Regions from separate parts of the Homo sapiens genome. Here region 1 is linked to region 2. The links are contacts of gene promoters, found by promoter capture Hi-C in blood cells and fetal thymus (Javierre and others, 2016). All regions are on one chromosome and are shown on one strand. The core of a region is centred on a gene start or on the middle of the fragment in contact, and the rest is flanking DNA. Distances in the headings are between cores, read along the strand shown. Region 1 has its middle 4.3 kb from the start of CLTB. Region 2 holds the start of CDHR2 (cadherin related family member 2).

The links. The method cuts DNA at HindIII sites, captures the fragments that hold promoters and counts their contacts. A CHiCAGO score of 5 or more calls a contact.
Region 1: a contact is called between a fragment that was not itself captured here and the fragment with the promoter of CDHR2 in region 2, in 8 of 17 cell types (naive CD4 T cells, total CD8 T cells, non-activated CD4 T cells and 5 more). The highest score is 7.4, in naive CD4 T cells.

The regions. Positions count from the first base shown.
Region 1 is chr5:176,417,827-176,423,923 of GRCh38, forward strand. No RefSeq gene overlaps it. Among named protein-coding and RNA genes, the nearest start is that of CLTB, 4.3 kb to the left of the region's middle. The HindIII fragment of the contact is 242 bases long and covers 3,232-3,473 here.
Region 2 is chr5:176,545,621-176,551,302 of GRCh38, forward strand. CDHR2 (cadherin related family member 2) reads left to right here and starts at 3,722. Exons shown (of 32, transcript NM_017675.6): 1 at 3,722-3,794. It also overlaps the pseudogene RN7SL684P. RefSeq lists an enhancer at 3,994-4,927. The HindIII fragment of the contact is 9,099 bases long and covers 1-3,871 here.

The sequences.
Region 1 (6,097 bases), core at 2,103-4,602, 130 kb before region 2:
GACAGGATCTTACTCTTGCCCAGGCTAGAGTGTAGTGGTACGATTATAGTTCACTACAGCTTCAACTCCTGGGCTCAAGTGATCCTCTCATCCTCAGACTTCCAAAGAGCTGGGATTACAGGCATGAGCCAACACACCTGGCCTTTTTGATGTTATTGTAAGTGGAAGTTTTATCTTCTTTTTTGATTGCGTATTGTTAATGCATAGAAATTTAACTGATTTTTGTGCATTGGCTTTGTATCCTGCTGCTTTGCTGAATTCATTTATTAGCTCTAACATTTTTTGTGTGTGGAATATTTAGGGTTTTCTGCAGATAAGAGCTTATTAGCCAGGTGCCATGGCTCATACCTGTAATCCCAGCACTTTGGGAGGTGGAAGTGGGTGGATAGATTGAGCCCAGGAGTTTGAGACCAGTCTGGACAACGTGGCAAAACCCCATCACTACTAAAACTACAAAAAATTAGCCAGACATGGTGGTATGGTGCCCGTAGTCCCAGTTACTCAGGAGGCCGAGGTGAGGGAATCACCTGAGCCCGGGAAGTCAAGGTTGCAGTGAGCTATGATTGTGTCAGAGGTGTGTGAATCAGAGCAAGTCCGTCGTAAACAGGATCTGGGTAAAATGAGGCTGAAACCTACTGGGCTGCATTCCCAGACGGTTAGGGCATTCTAAATCACAGGATGAGATAGGAGGTCAGCACAAAATACAAGTCATAAAGACCTTGCTGATAACACAGTTTGCAGTGTTGGGCAAGGTGGCCCACGCCTGTAATCCCAGCACTTTGGGAGGCCAAGGTGGGCGGATTGTGAGGTCAGGAGTTTGCGACCAGCCTGGTCAATATAGTGAAACCCCGTCTCTACTAAAAATACAAAAAATTAGCTGGGCATGGTGGCAGGTGCCTGTAATCCCAGCTACTTGGGAGGCTGAGGCAGGAGAATTGCTTGAACCCGGGAGGCGGAGGTTACAGTGAGCCGAGATCTCACCACTGCACTCCAGCCTGGGTGACAGTGCAAGACTCAGTCTCAAAAAACAAACAAACCAACAAACAACAACAACAAAAACCAGGTTGCAGTAAAGGAGCCAGCCAAAACCCACCAAAACCAAAATGGTGACAAGAGTGACCTCTGGTCATCCTCACTCCCACCAGTGCCAGGACAGTTTACAAATGCCATGGCAACATCAGGAAGTTACCCTATACGGTCTAAAAAGGGAAGGCACGAATAATCCACCCCTTGTTTAGCATTTCATCAAGAAATGGCCATGAAAATATGCAACCAGCAGTCCTTGGGGCTGCTCTGTCTATGGAGTAGCCATTCTTCTATTCCTTTACTTTCTTTTTCTTTTTTTGAGGTGGAGTCTCGCTCTGTTGCCCAGGCTGGAGTGCAGTGGTGCGATCTCGGCTCACTGCAAGCTCCACCTCCCGGGTTCACGCCATTCTCCTGCCTCAGCCTCCCAAGTAGCTGGGACTACAGGAGCCTGCCACCATGCTCAGCTAATTTTTTTTTTTTTTGTATTTTTAGTAGAGACGGGGTTTCACCCTGTTAGCCAGGATGGTCTCGATCTCTTGACTTCATGATCTGTCCACCTCGGCCTGCCAAAGTGCTGGGATTACAGGCGTGAGCCACCGTGCCCGGCCCCTCCTTTACTTTCTTAATAAACTTGTTTTCGCTTTGCACCAAGGACTCACCCTGAATTCTTTCTTGCGTGAGATCCAAGAACCCTCTCTTGGGGTCTGGATTGGGACCCCTGTCCTATAACAATCACACCACTGCGCTCCAGCCTGGGCAATGAGAGTGAGACCCTGTCTCTAAATAAATAAATAGCATCTGCAAACAGAGATACTTCTTACTTTCCAATCTGGGTTGCTTTTATTTCTTTTTCTTGCCTAATTTCTCTGGCTAGGACTTCCAGTACTATGTTGAATAGAAATACCAAAAGTGGGCATCCTTCTGCACAAGTTGTCCAAATCAAACTGGAGTCACTTATGCCAAACCCTAGCAAAATGGACTCAGGAGGCCATAAATGAGGGGCTCCCATGCACACATGCCTATGATAGAAAATATTACAAGGACTGTCTGAGGCTGGGCACGGTGGCTCATGCCTGTAATCCCAACACTTTGGGATGCTGAGATGGGCGGATCACCTGAGGTCTGGAGTTCAAGACCAACCTAACATGATGAAACCCCGTCTCTACTAAAAATACAAAATTAGCTGGGTGTGGTGGCACACACCTGTAATCCCAGCTACTCAGGAGGCTAAGGCAGAAGAATTGCTTGAACCTGGGAGGCAGAGGTTGCAGTGAGCCGAGATTGCCCCATTGTACTCCAGCCTGGGCAACAAGAGCAAAACTCCGTCTCAAGAAAAAAAAAAAAACCCAACAACAACAACAACAAAAAACAAGGATTGTCTGAAACCACAATCTTGCACAAAGGCCGTCACACCCATGCACGAAGAATATTTCTGCAATGACACCTGCCCAGCAATTGCCTGTTCAATCTTGGAATAATGCTACCCTTGTTATCAATCCTTGTAGCCAAGGATAATTTTTTCAAAACAACTTACGTAGCCTTCCTCATTTTGCCTTTAAAACCCCTTTCCTTCCTTTTTCTCTCTGAGTGCCCCCCTCCATGGTTCACCATAGTACATGTATTCCCTGGGATGCAACTGTAAACAAGAAAGTATCACAGACAGGTCTCAATCAATTTAGAGGTTTATTTTGCCAAGGTTGCAGGCACACCCAAGAAGAAGAGACACAAGACACAGTATGATCTGTGGCATGCACTTTTTTCCAAAGAAGATTTTGAGGACTTCATTATTTAAAGGGGAAAAAGTGGGCAGGAGGAGAAAGAAGAAAGGGGAAAAAAAGGAAGGTAGACAAGTGAGATAAGCCATTGCATTCTTTTGAGGCTTTGATTAGAGCTCACTGAATCCATACGTTCCATGTGAAAAGGACAGGGTAGAGGAATAGTCAATTACATATTCATCTTGCACTCAGTAAATCTGTACATAAGATAAACAGAGAGTAGAGGAAGAGTTCAAATATGCATTTGTCTGACAGGGGCGTGGGGGGGATGATTTCTAGTCTCCTTTTGTCCCGCACCTGTGAAGATAAGCTGTTAATTTACATTGTCAGGGTGAGGGAGGCCACCTGGGGAGACATGTGGCCTTCTATCTTATACCTATCTGTTTAGGAACAAAAGGAAAGGCAGTTTTTTTGTGTGGCTTAGTTTCCAAGCTTAACTTTTCCTTTTGAGTAGTGAGTTTGAGGTCCTGAGATTTTATTTTCCTTTCACACAATCTGATATGGTTTGGCTGTGTCCCCTCCCAAATCTTATCTTGAATTCCCATATGTTGTAGGAGGGACCCGGTGGGAGGTAAATGAATCATGGAGGCAAGTCTTTCCTGTGCAGTTCTTGTGACAGTGAATAAGTCTTACAAGATCTGATGGTTTTATAAAGAGGAGTTCCCCTGCACAAGCTTTTCTCTCATTTTGCCTGCTGCCATCCATGTAAGACATTAGTTGCTCCTCCTTGCCTTCCACTATGATTGTGTACTTCCCCAGCCACTTGGAACTGTAAGTCCATTAAACCTCTTTCTTTTGTAAATTGCCCAGTCTCAGGAATGTCTTTGTCAGTAGCATGAAAATGGACTAATATACAATTTGTCATTCATTCCCAAGTAATCTCACTTTTTCTTAGAGCCACTCTCCCTGTCGTTATTTTAGGTTGACTCTCTACTTGCTCCTGATCCTAGTGGATGAGCTTTCAGTCTTCCACCATGGAGTATGATGTTTGCTGTGGATTTCTTTTCTTTTCTTTTTTATAGAGCTGGGTCTCACTATGTTGCTCAAGCTGGTCTCAAACTACTGGGCTTAAGTGATCCTCCTGCCTCTGCCTCCCAAAAAGTGTTGGCATTATAGGTGTGAGCCACCATACCTGGCCAGATTTTTCATATATGGCTTTTGTTACATTATATAACTACCTTCTGTTCCTACTTTATTGACTGTTTTTATCATGAAAGGGTGTTGAATTTTGCCAAATGTTTTTTCTGCTCTATTGAGATGATCGCATGGTTTTTTTTTTTTTTTTGAGACGGGGTCTCGCTCTGTCACCCAGGCTGGAGTGCAGTAGCACGATCTCGGCTCACTGCAAGCTCCGCCTCCTGGGTTCACGCCATTCTCCTGCCTCAGCCTCCTGAGTAGCTGGGACTACAGGCGCCCGCCACCACGCCTGGCTAATTTTTTTGTATTTTTAGTAGAGACGGGGTTTCACTGTGTTAGCCAGGATGGTCTCGATCTCCTGACCTCGTGATCCGCCCACCTCGGCCTCCAAAAGTGCTGGAATTACAGGCGTGAGCCACCGTGCCCAGCCGTGTTTTTTAAATTAATTCAGTTAATGCAGTACATTACATTGATTGATTCTTGTATGGTGAACCACCCTTGCATTCTGGGTGTAAACCCCATTGGTCAAGGTACACAATCCTTTTATTGTGCTGTTGAATTCGGTTACTGAGTATTTTGCTGAGGATTTTTGCATCAATGTTCACAAGAGATAATGATCCATAGTTTTCTTTTCTACTAGTGTCTTCTTTTTTTCATGCTATTACTGGGACTTGTAGTGTCTTTATCTGGCTTTGGTATCAGCATAATGCTGGCATCATAGAAAGAGTTAGGAAGTGTTCTCTTCAATTTCTGTGAGAAGTTTGAGAAGAGTTGGTTCTTCTTTAAATGTTTAATGGAATTCACCAGTGAAGCCATTAGATCCTGGGCTTTTCTTTGTCAGGAGATTTTTGATTACCGATCCAATCTCACTAGTTATAGGTTTACTCAGATTTTCTATTTCTTTATGGTTTAGTCTTGATAGGTTTTTGTGTTTCTAGCAATTGTAATGGTGTGATCTCGGCTCACCGCAACCTCCACCTCCCAGGTTCAAGCGATTCTCCCTCCTGCCTCAGCCTTCTGAGTAGCTGGGATTACAGGTGTGTGCCACCACACCTGGCTAATTTTGTATTTTTAGTAGGGACAGGGTTGCTCCATGTTGGTCAGGCTGGTCTCACACTCCCAACCTCAGGTGATCCTCCTGCCTCAGCCTCCTAAAGTGTTGGGATTATAGGCGTGAGCCACCGCGCCCGGCCACAGTAGTCTTTTATAATCCTTATTATTCCGATGGAATCAGTAGCAATGTCCCCATTCTTGTATCTACTTTTAGTGATTTGAATCTTCTTTTTTCTTAGTTAGTTCATCTAGCTAAAGGTTTGTCAATTTTGTTGATCTTTTCAAAGAACCAACTTTCTTTTTTTTAATTTTTTATTATTATTCTTATTTATAGAGATGGAGTTTCACCATGTTGGCCAAGCTAATCTTGAACTCCTGACCTCAAGTGATCTGCCCACCTCAGCCTCCCAAAGTGCTAGGATTACAGGTGTGAGCCACCATGCCCAGATGAAGAACCAACTTTCTATCCTCATAAATTATTTTTGCCCAGACTAGTGGAGTTTTATTCTATGGATGCACAGATTATTATTTGGCTGATGATTTAAAGCTAATTCCTATGCACATTTCTGGAATTCTTGCCCTGCCTAGCTCCCTCTTCTCAGTACTTTACCCTGCAAATCCTAGCCACTTCAACTTCCCCAAACTCCTATCTCTGTCTCTTGCCTCTGTGAGACTGCTGGACTCTGTTTGGGTTCCCCTTACCTTCCTAGCAGCTTAGAAATTCCTTCAGGCGGGCTGGGTACAGTGGCTCACGCCTGTAATCGCAGCACTTTGGGAGGCCGAGGTGGGCGGATCACTTGAGGTCGGGAGTTCGAGACCAGCCTGACCAACATGGAGAAACCCCGTCTCTACTAAAAATACAAAATTAGCCAGGTGTGGTGGCGCATGCCTGTAATCCCAGCTAGTCGGGAGGCTGAGGCAGGAGAATCGCTTGAACCCAGGAGGCAGAGGTTGTAGTGAGCTGAGATCACACCATTGCACTCCAGCCTGGGCAACAAGAGCGAAACTCCATCTCAAAAAAAAAAAAAAGAAAAGAAAAAAGAAATTCCTTCAGGCAGAAAGCGTGGTGTTCTGCTGTGAGCAGATCTAAGCTAACCTACCTCCAA
Region 2 (5,682 bases), core at 2,472-4,971:
GCATTAGGCCCATTTTGGACAAGGACACCAATAGTGTGGGAGGTGGTGTACCTTGCCCAAGCCCCCAGCAGGTAAGTGGTGGTGGGGATTAGGACCCAGGTCACTTGAGTCCATATCCTGGGCTCTTAGTCCCACTCTGCCTGGCTGCCTGCTGCTCCGTGAAGCCAACCCTGGACCTAGACCTGGACCTGGATCGTCATAGCCCAGATCCCTGTGTGCTTCCCAGGCTGCCTTGTGGCAGGTGGATGGTGCCCCTCGAGATGGGCAGGGCACCATCTGGCCACACGTGCCTCATCGTGATGGGTCCAAAGGTCTGGGCAGGCCAGGACACACCTCTGTCAACCAGAGCAGTGACTCAGAGCTGTCGGCCTCAGCCGTAAGGGCAGGGAGAGGGGGCAGGGGCTTGGGTTGGGGTCTGCCCTATTTGGGGCACAGCAGAGCGACCAGGCTGACTCCCATGGTCTGAGGCAGAGCGGGGAGCCTGGAGCCTTGGGTGGGGTCACCTGCCTCTCTTCTTACTGGTTAAGCCACCAGCGATGACTAGTGCCTACTTCCTTCAGAGAGGAATCTGACGGCTGTGGCAGGAAAGTCAGGGGCAAGAATTGTTGCACAGATATGCTAATATCTCAGTTCTGCCACTTTCTGTAATCTCGGGTGGTGATCTAATCTGTCTAAGGTCTATTTTCCCATCTGTAATGGGGAAAAAAATCATCCCTGGAGTTATTGGCAGGATTAAATGAGGTGATATTAGTAATGCAATAGTCACCACCATGCCCCCACGAAAACTAACATTCATTGAGACCTTATTGTGTTGGGCATTGTGCTCAGGACTTCAAATGGGTGACTTCATTACATCCTCACCATCACCTGCCCAGGTAGGCATCATGTATTACCTGCAACTTACAGATAAGGAAACCGTCTTAGAGAGGTTATGCAACTTGCCCTGCCAAAATTGAACCCATTGTGAATATACAGTAGATAAAAAAAATAATAAAAATAAAATGAAATTAAAAATTGTGGCTGGGCAGGGCGGCTCACACCTGTAATCCTAGTACTTTGGGAGGCCGACACGGGTGGGTCACCTGAGGTCAGGAGTTTGAAACCAGCCTGGCCAACATGGTGCTCAAAAAAAAAAAAAAAAAAAAAAAAAAATTGAACCCAGCAGTCTGACCCCAGAGGAGCCTGGTCTCTGGTCTCTTAACCCCTGCATTGTAATAGTCGCATCGAGCGCTACCCAGTGTCTGCAGCATCCTTTCCTCAGAAACACTTCTCAAAAAGAGGAAAAGCCTCTTGGGTATCAAAACTCAGAACTGCATCATAGCTCCCAGAGCCTGGCTATACGCAAAGTGGTCTTTTTGGTCTTTTTTTTTTTTTTTGAGATGGAGTCTTGCTCTGTCACCCAGGCTAGAGTGCAGTGGGACAATCTTGGCTCACTGCAACCTCTGCCTCCCGGGTTCAAGTGAATCTCCTGCCTCAGCCTCCTGAGTAGCTGAGATTACAGGCACCTGCCACCGTGCACAGCTATTTTTTGTATTTTTAGCAGAGACAGGGTTTTACCATTTTGGCCAGGCTGGTCTCGAATTCTTGACCTGGTGATCCACCCGCCTCAGCCTCCCAAAGTGCTGGGATTACAGGCGCGAGCCACCAGCCTATGCAAATGTTTTAAAATGGATGGATGCTGGACTCAATGGATCTCAATTCCCTTTTTTCTTTGCCTGGGGGGAAGCTCAGAACCTGATTCATGACCCATCTCTACAATTACCCAGAACTTGAAGGCAAATATATATATATATATAATTTGTTTATTTTTTGAGAGAGAAGCTCTTGTTGTCTAGGCTGGAGTGCAGTAGCTATTCATAGGCACAGTCTCACTACTGATCAGCACCTGAAGTTTGACCTGCTCTGTTTCTGACCTGGGCTGGTTCAGCCTTTCTGAGGCAACCTAGTGGTCCTCTGCTCCTTGGGGTTCACCATATTAGTGCTGAATTTAGTGTGGACACCCCATCAGCATAGTGCCCTACAGCACAGAAATCCTGGCCTCAAGCCATCCTACTGCTGCAGCCTCCCAAGTAGCTGGGACTACAGGTGCACAGCAGTGCCCCCAGCTCAAGACAAGTATTTTATGGCCTCAATTCAGGCGTAGATTACCCTTATTTTTCTCACTTGACTTCCCTTCATCTGGGTTTCTTCTTTTTATGCTGGTGGCGTATAAATTTTGTTACTATGTTTTACATTTGGAGAGTTGGGAAGCAAACTATTAAAATGCCTGACTATAGCAACTGCCTGATATACAGTCAACACAACCCTTAACAACGGGGACACCTTCTGGGAAATGTGTCATCAGGCAATTTCGTCATTGTGTGAACATCACACAGTGACTTACACAAACCTAGGCGGTACCACCTACTACACACCCAGTCTCTATACCACCGCCTGTGCTCCTGGGCTGCTAACCTATGCAGCCTGGGACTGTACCGCACGCTGCAGGCAACTGTAACACAGGGGTAAGTATTTGTGCATGTAAACACAGAAAGGGTGCCATGAAAGATGATATTATACTCTTATGGGACCGCTATTATATGTGTGGTTCGTTGTTGACCAAAACACAGATATATGGTGCATGACTATATATCTATTGTGAATTAGACATGTCCTCTGCCCACAAGAAGAGGGCCACCCAATGGTGACGACTCAGTGGTGTGCCTTAAGAAAGTTGTGCCCAGGGTCCCCTTTCTGTGTCAACTGTGATGGCTGGGCCAAAGTGAGGATAAGAAGGACTTGTGGCTGAGCCCCTTCGGGAGGCCACCACATCGGGCAGCGCTTAAAGCCAGCCTGGGGGCCGAGCTCCGTGGCTCATCCCTGTAATCCCAGCATTTTGGAAGGCCGAGGCAGGCGGATCGCCTGAGGTTAGGAGTTCGAGACCAGCCTGGCCAACATGGTGAAACCCTGTTTCTACTAAAAATACAAAAAAAATTAGCCGGGTGTGGAGGCCCACGCCTGTAATCCCAGTTACTCGAGAGGCTGAGGTAGGAGAATTGCTTGAACCCAGGAAGCAGAGATTGCAGTGAGCCAAGATTGTGCCACTTCACTCCAGCCTGGGTGACAGAGCAAGACTCTGACTCAAAAATAAATAAATAATTAAAAAAAAAAGGCAACTTGGGAGTGGATGAAGCCCCTGGGGACGGGCAGATGCCTTTTGAGGGTCTCAATGCGGGGTGAGATCAGTGTCAACAGGCTCGAAAGTGGGTTGTCCAGGCTCAGCTAGCCCCCAGTCCTCCACGAGAACCTCACAGGGGCTGGTCTGGCCACACAGTGTTTGATTGTTACACTGTTTTACCACTTCCCTCTCCTGACTCAATCCCCCACTTGTCCACAGATCCCCTGTCACTGAAGACTCGTAGCAGGGAGGGGACGGGGGCTCTGGCATCACCTTCTGACTGTCACCGTCCCCGCCTCCAGCCTGCCCCAGTGTTGGGCCTTGTTCCCAGGTCCTCTGGGCTCAGGGTCGGCCAGGCCCCTTCTCCTGTGGTGTGGGCCTCCAGCCCCAGGAGCGCCAGGAGCTCTGGCGCCTTGGTCCCTTCCTCCTGTCCGGCGCCCCCAGCTGTACTCTGCCTCATTAGGAGTCGACCCCTCCTGGGAGGTGTGGTCTCTGGCAGGGTTAATGATTGCTCAGTGGAGGTGGAGATGGTGCCAAAGTCTGCTGGCCACATAGCTGCAGGCCGCAGAGGGTGCCCACCTGTGTGCCAGCGCCTGTCCGGCGCCTGCCTGCCGCCTCCGTGGCGAAGGGGACACAGGTAGGGACTATCCAGCTCATCGGGGGTCTCTGGGCCAGAGAAATGTGGGGGTTGGGGGGATCCCTAGAGCCAAGGCAAGCTTGGGGGTCTTTAAAAGTCTCCCCTGAAGCTGGGCAGGGGAAGTCACACGCTAGATGGGGCAGAGCCGGGTCAGGTCCCAGCCTGCTGTGAGGCCTGTTTCTTTGGTAAACATGGGATAATAATACCTCCTTCCCTGGGGGCTGATGGCCCCCTTCCCATCCAAGTCCTCAAGGGATGATTCTTCAGAGGATGGAAGGGAGGCAGGCACCCCAGGGAAACGAGGTAACTGGCCTGACCCCTTCATAGGATGCTCAGGGGTTGAGGACGGGGAAGCTGACCTGGGCTCTTACCCCAGCTGCTCGGTTCACATCCCAGCTCCACCCTGACCTTGGTGGGCTACTTAACTCTTCTGGGCCTCCGTTTCCTCATTTATCAAATGGGGATGAGAAGAGTTCCAGAAAGGGCCTGAAAAGCCCTGAGGCAAAGGTGAGCATGTGGCCTATGACCGAGCCCAGTGCCACCTCAGCCAGTGCTAGGAAGTGTCAGGCAGGGACTGACCCAGGCTGGCCCCAGCTCTGCCCAGTCCGGGCCTTGCACATCTCTCTGCCCTGGTAGAGGAGGTGGTGACCCAGCTGAGAGTCGGGGCCATGCTGCGTCACTCAGGCAGGCCTGTGCTGGGTTGGGCACCAGGCACAAGGCAGGGTCCCAGTGAGCACCGAGGTCCGGCAGATGGAAACAAGTCATGGCCCGTGTGTAGACCCCTTGATTTTTATCCTCACTCTGCTTCTCAGCAGGGGAAACTGAGGCCTGGAGAGGGGAGAGGGCTTGCCTGGGGTTGCACAACAAATATGTGAAATGCTGCCATCTGAACCCAGGGCTGTTTGAGTCTGTATGTGTCTGCTGGGCCAGGTGGCCTGGGCCATAGGCACTGGGAGGGCCCGTGGCGGGGAGCTGCGTGCTCAGGTCCCACATCCTTGCTCCGGGCACCCAGGCTCGGCTGGAGTCCGCTCTGTGGGTGCAGGCACGGCCTCCTGGATCAACGGAGCCCAGACCAAGGCTTGCCCAGGGACCCCTGGATTTGGAGGCAGCCTGGGTCTAACCTGCTGCCCCTGGCTCACCCATCTCTGGGCATCTATGAGCCTCGGTTTCCTTGGAATAATAGGATAGGATAATTCCTGCTTGGGAACAGCTGTGAGAAGTAAATGAAAAAGCAGAAGTGAAAGTGCATGGCGAGCTGGCCGTGTAGCGGTGGCGGTGCTGGGGGAGCTCTGTAGCATCGTGGCTGAGTGCACCCCGGGGGCTCCCCACACTGAAGGAGGACCCACCTCCCCACCCTGACCCTCCTGGAGGTCCTGGGCAGTCCGGGTATCCTCACTCCCAGTGGTTCCAAATTCTAGAAAATCTTGGCACCGTGGACTGCTCTGAGATGCGGCTGAAGCCTCCTCTCAGCCAAGGCTGAAGAGCTGGCACCTCCTGGGCCAGGTGGGACCAGTGAGGATTCCTGGAGACTACACATCTCATGGCGTGGGGGCCAGAGTCTCCCTGATTCTTCTCTGTGTCCTTTTTGGTCCTTCCCTAAGCACTTTCTTTTTGAGACGGATTCTCACTCTGTTGCCCAGGCTGGAGTGCAAGGCGCTATCTCGGCTCACTGCAACCTGTGCCTCCCTGGTTCAAACGATTCTCCTGCCTCAGCCTCCTGACTAGCTAGGATTACAGGTGCACGCCACCACGTCTGGCTAATTTTTTTTTGTGAGATGGAGTCTTGCTTGTCGCCCAGGCTCCAGTGCAGTGGTGCGATCTCAGTTCACCACAACCTCTGCCTCCTTGGTTCAAGTGATTCTCCTGCCTCAGCCTCCCGAATAGCTGG